3 separate regions of the Homo sapiens genome follow, and all the other regions are linked to region 2. The links are contacts of gene promoters, found by promoter capture Hi-C in blood cells and fetal thymus (Javierre and others, 2016). All regions are on one chromosome and are shown on one strand. The core of a region is centred on a gene start or on the middle of the fragment in contact, and the rest is flanking DNA. Distances in the headings are between cores, read along the strand shown.

Region 1 (2,700 bases), core at 99-2,598, 860 kb after region 2:
ATTGGTGTACCTGTAAGTGATGGGGAGAATGGAACCAAGTTGGAAAACACTCTTCAGGATATTATCCAGGAGAACTTCCCCAACCTGGCAAGGCAGGCCAACATTCAAATTCAGGAAATACAGAGAACACCACAAAGATACTCCTCGAGAAGAGCAACCCCAAGACACATAATTTTCAGATTCACCAAGGTTGAAATGAAGGAAAAAATGTTAAGGGAGGCCAGAAAGGTCAAGTTACCCACAAAGGGAAGCCCATCAGACTAACAGTGGATATCTCTGCAGAAACCCTACAAGCCAGAAGAGAGTGGGGGCCAACATTCAACATTCTTAAAGAATAGAATTTTCAGGGGCCAGGCGCGGTGGCTCACACCTGTAAGCCCAGCACTTTGGGAGGCTGAGACAGGTGGATCACGAGGTCAGGAGATCGAGACCATCCTGGCTAACACGGTGAAACCCTGTCTCTACTAAAAATACAAAAAATTAGCCGGGCATGATGGAGGGCGCCTGTAGTCCCAGCTACTCGGGCGACAGAGCGAGACTCCGTTTCAAAAAAAAAAAAAGAATAGAATTTTCAACCCAGAATTTCATATCCAGCCAAACTAAGCTTCATAAGCGAAGGAGAAATAAAATCCTTTACACACAAGCAAATGCTGAGAGATTTTGTCACCACCAGGCCTGCCTTTCAAGTGTTTTTGTTTTGTTTTGCTTTTAGAAATCACGTCCTTCAGTACACCTGGTACTAAGAATTGAGCGGGTAGGAAAATTCTTTGCTTAGGTCACTCAGTAAATGCCAAGCTTAGTATGTTTCCTTAAATGTATGGAGCCACTTCAGAAGAATCAGTGTCTCTGTGAGAAGGGCTGTTCTCAGAGCTTAGTTCTTTATTAATAAGTCTGGTGGTTCTTTGAGCAGTGTGTAACTTCCATTGGGGAGCTCCGTGCGCACAGTGCACGCCGACCACCAGGTGGCAGTGTCGTCCCACAAGTTAACCTACAAAGGCTTTAATGAGCCTTTGGAAGTAACGACGGTTTTCTTTTACCAGACAAAGTAAACCTTTCATTTGTAAAAACCCAGTTGGCATGTTTTACCCAATCCTTTGAAGGAAGTTATTTCTAAAGGTATTTATAGCTAGTTTCTAGAGGATAGATGTTCTAGGAGTTGACAAATGGCCCAGATTTCCAGCAACACTTCATCCATCCCAGCCCATGAAGCAGCAGGATGTGCCCGCCTAAGCTTCCGAATGGATAGTATATCACCCTTAGCAGAACACGCTGAGGCGGAGGGCACAGGAGATTGTCACTGTGATGTTCAGGGCGTCATGATCTGCAAGCTGTGTAGCAGATCGAGTTTTATGTTCGCAGAGATGAGGAGCTTAATCTTGGAAGGAGTCAGAAGAGCCCCTGCCAAGTTGTTAAGAGTATCTATGGGAATTCGTCCCTGCTGAGTATTTGTAATAAATAAAGCTTTGCGTTTCAATAGCACTTCTTATTCTCGGATAATAAAAAGATCTTCGATTACTGCACAGCCGACAGGTGTTTTATTCTCATTTTATAGTTCATAAAATGGAAGCGTGAGGAAAACAGGTTTCCCTACCGTTTCTGAGACCTGGGCTTGGACTTTAAGCTCTAGACCTTTGTTCAGCCACAGCATCGAGTGAAAGCATTGTTAGAACACCACCTCCCCTACTCTCCCGCAGGAGGGTGCTTTTTCTTGTGAAGAGAAAGGGTGGGTGGAAAAGGGATTGACTGTTACTGAACCCCTGTTATGTGCCAGACCTTGGCGAGGAGTCTGCTGTGTTACCCTCCAACATTTAGGAAGGGGTGAGTTCTTTTGTTTCGTTGGTATCTCCTACAACATCTAACATAGTGATAAACCATGCAAAGTTTTCACAAAACACTTGAAATTAATAATTGCATATATGGTATCTCAATATTCTTATAAGGAGAACAGGGCGAGGACAGAGACACACTTGGATCTGTTATTCAAAGTCAGTGATCATAGTGCTTGCCTCAGCGATACATGCACAAAAATGGGACAAAATCAATGATCTGATTAACTGCTGGATTCAAAGTCAGTGATCGTAGTGCTTGCCTCAGCGATACATGCACAAAAATGGGGCAAAATCAATGATCTGATTAACTGCTGGCAACCTTAACAATGTATCTTTGATCTTAATTACATGTTTAGAGTTGCTTCGCTAGCTAAGGAGAGATGAATTCCATACTTAATGTTCCTAACGTATTTGCAGTAGCAAATGGCTAATTTCATGAAATATTTATTCTTTTGCTTCAGAACCGAGTAAATAAAACAGAAAGAATATCAGTTGCCGTACCTAATGTGAGAAGGTGCCCATGTTCTGATGCGACGGGGGAACAAACCCAAGCCCAGCATGGTCAGACCTGCCCTGCAGGCTTCAGTCGGGCCTTTCTAGGTCAACACCACAGTCATCTGTTTTGAAAAATAATAAATTCTCCATCCTTTACTGGAATACATCATTTTGAAAGGGACAGGCCCAATTCATTTAGACCAAAGACGAAGTCACCCTTCAAAGGGCAGTTGGTGATGGAGTGCTTATTTCTTCTATACAGCAAAGCAGATGAGAGTGTCTTTGTACAAAAGGACTTTCTCTAGTGAGTCCAAGAAATAGATCAAAAGGGTTATCTAAGGCACCCAAAGCTAGATTTCATAAATAAATGGGCTTT
Region 2 (2,700 bases), core at 66-2,565:
CGCTTGAGGTCCCCAATAATCTGGTGCAAAGACAGATGCACTTCTGGACCAGGTAAAGGCCCCCTGAGGTGGGTGCCGCACACGCGGAGCTCAGCGGTGGGAAGCCAGGATGAGGACGCAGCAGCGGATGGGGAGAAGGCATAAGACGCAGGCTGGGAATTCACCATCTCTGATTCTCCCTGGAACCTGCTCCGACCCAAGGCAGGTTGTCCTGGCCCAGGTCAAGATGCCCTCCCCGCAGCTCCCCAGGCTATTTGTAGTCGAGCGGTCACTCGGCGGCAGGCTCCACAGCAGAGCGCCTCCTCCCCGCCCCACACCCCGCAGCCCTGGCTCCGGGAGGCGGCGGAGGGGGGAGGGGACTACAGCTCCCGGCATGCCCCGCGCCCGGCCTCCCCGGGGCCGAGGGAGGGGGCGCCGCGCGGCGAGTGGGGACCTCGCTGGGTCCCGGCGTCGGCAGGGGACCCCGGGAGGGCGCCGGAACCCTGTCGCGCCTGCGTCGCACAAAGGCCGAAGGGCCAGGAAAGCACTGTGGGGAGTCGCTCCCCGTCCTGGCCCGTGTTCCACCGCCCGGGTGGGCGAGCCCTGGCACCGCCACCAACGAGGCGGCCCGCGGCTGGCAGCTCCGCTGGGGCCGCGAGGTCGGGGGCGGCGTGGCGTGGGAGGCCCGGCCTGGCCCCGGGCTGCGGCTCGGGTGCCCGCGGCGGTCGCCTCGCCCCGCCCCTCTCCGCCGCCCCGCGCGCGCCGGGGTGGGCACTGCAATCCCGACCCCCTGCCCGGGCCCGGGCGCTGCCGGCTGGGGAGCCTGGGGCCTCGGCCCGCGCACCTAGGCCGCCCCCCTGCCGAGCGCATGGCCGGCCTCGGTGCCTTAAACGACGCAGCCCGGTCCGGGACGGCGATGCCACCGGCCCCCGGCGGGACGGCCGCGAGGCTGCAAAGGCGGCCGCCTCGACCCGTGCCCGGCCGCGGGCTCCGGGCGCGGCGGAAGGGCGGCCCGCGGGGCCCCGGGTTCCGACGCCTCCGCAGGCCCCGCCGCCCCTCACCTTCAGCACGCCTTCGTCCTGTTTGGGGCTGATGTCCACTCCCTCCATGGGCAGCGGCGCCGACTGCGCCCCGCTCTCGGTCGCCTTCATCTCCTCGGCTGTCATCTCCGCGCGGCGCGCCGTTTATCCGGGAGCTGGTGCCGGCGCGAGCGCACTCTGGGCCGCGGGCGGGGGCGCTACCTGCGGGGCGTGCGGGAGGCCGGGCGCGGCGGCACTGACTGCGGACCGCGAGGAGGCTTGAGCACCTCTGCACGCGGCGCGAGAGCTGGGGTAGGTGGGTCAGGAGCGGCTCGGGGAGCGATTGGTCCCGCCCCGCCGCGAGGGAGGGGCTGGGAGGAGCGGGAGCGCAGACAGAGGGGGCGGGGTGCAGAACTTTCTAGAGACGGCGGGACTGAGCCGGTTCGGGCTCAGTGCTGCGGGCGCTTCGGAATTTTTTTTTCTTTTTTTTTTTTTGGTTCTTGCCTCCTTCTGGCTGCCTGCCCCCTCCCCCTTCTCCTGGGACCCTCGGACTCGGGATCTCCCCGGCGGCCTCCCTTGGCCCTTCCTCCCTCCCTCCCATCCCCGCCCGCTTCCCTGTCTAACCGGATTCTTCCAGATTCTTCTCGATCGATCTCCCGACATCACTCCACCAGTCCGCTGCGCCTGCGGCGGGGTGTGGGGAGCGCAGGCTGCGGGATGGCAGTGGCGGCGCCCCCTCCCCGGGACCGGCCGTCACCACGGGCGGCGTGGCCTCTCTGCTATGACCCGCGTAGACCCTTCCCTACTTGGGGGAAAGAGGGCAAGGGCGTGCGCGGGGAGCGGGGAGTGAGTGGACAGCGCTGCCCCGCTGCAGAGAGCCGGGGAAAGCGACCTCGATTTCCCCAGATCCGAGAAGCCCCGGCCAGGCAGCGATGCCTCGCTCAGCGCCTGCAGATGCTGCGAGCAGCGGGGTTGGCAAGGCATGGCCCGCCCAGCTCGGAACTCAGATGGGGCACACACTCAGGGGACCCTTCCCGGCGGTAATAAAACTGCCGTTTCCGCGAATGCTTACAAAGATGGGTTCCCCTCACGAAAAAAGTCACTCGGTTTTCCTAAAGGCCCACAGAAGGAGTATTTTCTTCTCAATGTTTGCTTCCCGAGTGTTTTTCGACAGGCTGTGGAGCGCGCAGGTGCCGGTGTCACCTAAGCTATGGTCGTGGGACCTAGAGAGCCATCTAGAGAGGGGCCTGGTTTTGCTCAGCACCTAACCCCAGTTTAGCATAGTGCCTGGTGAGTGATGTCCCAATAGTTACTGGCTGCATGAATTTTCCTTTTTTAAATTTCTTTTTCCAAGTCTTGGCTGATTTTTTTTTCTTTTTTTTTTTTTTTTGAGACAGGGTCTTGCTCTGTCGCCCAGGCTGCAGTGCGGTGGTGCGATCTTGGCTCTCTGTAGCCGGGACTACAGGCGTCCGCCACCACGCCGACTAATTTTTGTATTTTTAGTAGAGACGGGGTTTCGCCATGTTGCCCAGGCTGGTCTCGAACATCTGGTCTCAAATGATCCGCCCGCCTCGGCCTCCCAAAGTTCTCGGATTACAGGCGTGAGCCACTGCGCCCAGCCTGAATTTTTATTCCAATAATAACTGTATTTTTGGACTTCCCGTTATGTGCCCGGCACTGTGCGATTGGACGCCATTAGTCT
Region 3 (2,700 bases), core at 108-2,607, 790 kb after region 2:
CAATGACTGTTTTTTTTTAGAATTGGAAAAAAATGTATATGTAACGTAGTAAATAAATAAGTCTAAGTCAGGATAAAGTGAGCTAAGTGCCACAAGAAAAATCGCAACAGAATGCAATGAGGATTCATAGGCTGAAAGGATTGTATGGGAGAAGACAGGAGGTGAGTTTTCCAGGAAAAGGTCATTCCAAGCTAAGAAGACAGATGGGCAAAGGTACAGAGATAGGAATGTGTAAGATACTTGGGAGAAAAGAGTTCAGATACAAGGAGGTTAGAACAGAAGATGGGTTGTTTCATTAACTCTAAACACACAAAAAATTAACTCTTCTCTACTAAGGGTCATATTAGCATGTTGTTCACATATGTGAAATTTTCCCCGTAAGCAAAGTAAGGGTATCTTCATCTTACTCATCAGTGAGATCAAAGACTGGAGAAGACATGACCATGTAATTTCAGCACAGACACAAGAAGCAATAATAAATCATGAAGAATTAATGAATTTCATCAAGTGAGCACTCCATAAATGCTTTGCAATTGTAGTCATACAGATCACTAAGACTTGTATACACTTTTGTTTTATGAACATTTAAGCTTTTACAATGGCCCCTATATTGCCTGTCTTCTCTAATGAGCTCAAAGCAATTCGTTCTTTGGAGGCCATGATCTATTCTTTACACTTTAAAGATGGAAAGACTGAAAAATTATGAGGACAATGATCTGTGTAAGGATCATGGAACTTAACAGACAAAAGAAAAACAATGCCTCATTATATGTACGAGGGAAATGCAAAGTAGAATCTGTGGGTTCATGCTGAAAAATCAAAATTAGAACAGCTAATCAAGTGAGAGAGTGTGACTAGTTCAAGAATTAATCACAAAATTCTCCATTGCCCATATTACAGATTAAACTTGTTTTTAGAAGCACATATGTGATTAAGAGCAAAGAGGTCAGTAACACTGGAAAAAGGTAGTGAACTAACATGGAAAGTTGTCTAGTCAGCTTTGTGTGGTTGCTCAGTTGCTGCAGCCCTATGTTTTTCAAACTACAGGTCACAATCCATTAGTTGGTCATGAAACCAATTTACAAAGTCACAAATAGCATTTTAAAAAATGTCTGTATACTTAGTATTGAAACATTTATTCTAGTTAATATCAGGTATAAATATATAAACATATGTTCTCAGTCAGACTGCAAATGACCCCAGCCTCAGTCAAAAAAAAGTTGTTTGAAAGCCATTGCTGTATTCTTCCCCACTGGGAAGTTAGGCTTGGGAGTCAATAGGACTGAGACTCCAAAATGCAGCTTAACCAAGAATTTCAGTACAATTGAAATTGTGACTGCAAAGATTATATTGCAACATATTATTATGAGAGGGTATGTGTGCCGTATCTATGATATTTCTATATCAAATAGGTAAGAATTTATGAATGTGAGTAGTAATGTCTGCACAGTTGTTCTAATATTTAATGCTAGATAAATGGTTTAGATCAACCATTCTCAACTTTTTAGTCTCAAGACTCCTTTACACTCTTAAAAATTATTTTTTTAATTACTTTTTATTTATTTTATTTTTGAGATGGAGTCTCGCTCTATCACCCAGGCTGGAGTGCAGTGGCAGGATCTCGGCTCACTGCAACCTCTGCCTCCCGGGTTCAAGCGATTCTCCTGCCTCAGCCTCCCGAGTATCCGGGATTACAGGTACCTGCCACCACTCCTGGCTAATTTTTGTATTTTTAGTAGAGACGGGGTTTCACCATGTTGGCCAGGCTGGTCTTGAACTACTGACCTTGTGATCCGCCCGCCTCAGCCTCCCAAAGTGCTGGGATTACAGGCAGGAGCCACCGCACCTGGCCCACTCTTAAAAATTATTAAGGACTCCCTCAGAGAACTTTTGTTTATGTGAGTTATACCCACCTATATTTACCATATTGGAAATTAAAAATAACTTTAAAGACCCCGGGCTATGTGTGTTTTGTTTGGAGTATATGAAGAAACTCTGGCCTCATATGTAGATAATGTAGTTGGAAAAGAGATGGATATTTTAATAGAGTTTTTCAGACAATTGTGGATATTCTTCTTGGATAATATACCAAAACTTGACAAGCTGGAGTTTCTCAAAGCTTAGCTGCAATGTACTATCTGAAATCCTATTAACTTTTCATACTGTTACATTAAAAATCCATTAGTCCACCTTGTCCTTGAATGGATCTTTTGCCTGTGCATGATTATGTAGCATGAGACATTGGTCTTTTGGAAAATACTGGACCACTGAGTTAAGCAGATCTTTGAGATATTGACACTTTCCATTATACAAGATTTGTTAAAATTGCGCTCATTAATATCATCACTGATCTCATCAGAAAAAAAAACATTAAGTACTGAGATGTCAAGCTCATGGCAGTAGATACACATTTTCTAAACTTTTAATTCTGGCTTGAAGGCTTAAAAATTATCATTGGCAGCAGTAATTGTCCCTTGTTTTCCTGAAAGTGACAGGCACACTTTATTTATTTTCAGAAAAATGTCTGTCAAGTACCTGTTTGAATAATCATAGTTTGCCCATCTTTCTTTCAAGTAAAAATGTTTTATGAAAATAAAAATAAAAACATGAATTCGGCCTACAACTCAAGCACAGAAGTATTTTCCTAGAGACAAATATGACACACTTCATTTTGCAGCAGACGTGCTTTATGCCTATTTC

Evidence for each region. Contacts are between HindIII fragments. The CHiCAGO score rates a contact against its expected background, and 5 or more counts as called.
Region 1: a contact is called between a fragment that was not itself captured here and the fragment with the promoter of FKBP4 in region 2, in 1 of 17 cell types (naive B cells). The highest score is 6.0, in naive B cells.
Region 3: a fragment that was not itself captured here is called in contact with the fragment with the promoter of FKBP4 in region 2 in 2 of 17 cell types (naive CD4 T cells and activated CD4 T cells); the score reaches 5.6 in naive CD4 T cells.

The regions. Positions count from the first base shown.
Region 1 is chr12:1,938,450-1,941,149 of GRCh38, reverse strand. No RefSeq gene overlaps it. Among named protein-coding and RNA genes, the nearest start is that of LINC00940, 3.2 kb to the right of the region's middle. The HindIII fragment of the contact is 230 bases long and covers 1,234-1,463 here.
Region 2 is chr12:2,793,585-2,796,284 of GRCh38, reverse strand. FKBP4 (FKBP prolyl isomerase 4) reads right to left here and starts at 1,315. Exons shown (of 10, transcript NM_002014.4): 1 at 1,041-1,315. The coding sequence starts at 1,145. All of the region lies in intron 2 of ITFG2-AS1 (ITFG2 antisense RNA 1), which reads left to right. RefSeq lists silencers at 267-676, 1,027-1,086, 1,117-1,496 and enhancers at 1,346-1,890, 1,891-2,436. The HindIII fragment of the contact is 2,886 bases long and covers 1-2,700 here.
Region 3 is chr12:2,005,280-2,007,979 of GRCh38, reverse strand. It overlaps a transcript of CACNA1C not described here. Among named protein-coding and RNA genes, the nearest start is that of DCP1B, 2.2 kb to the right of the region's middle. The HindIII fragment of the contact is 1,529 bases long and covers 593-2,121 here.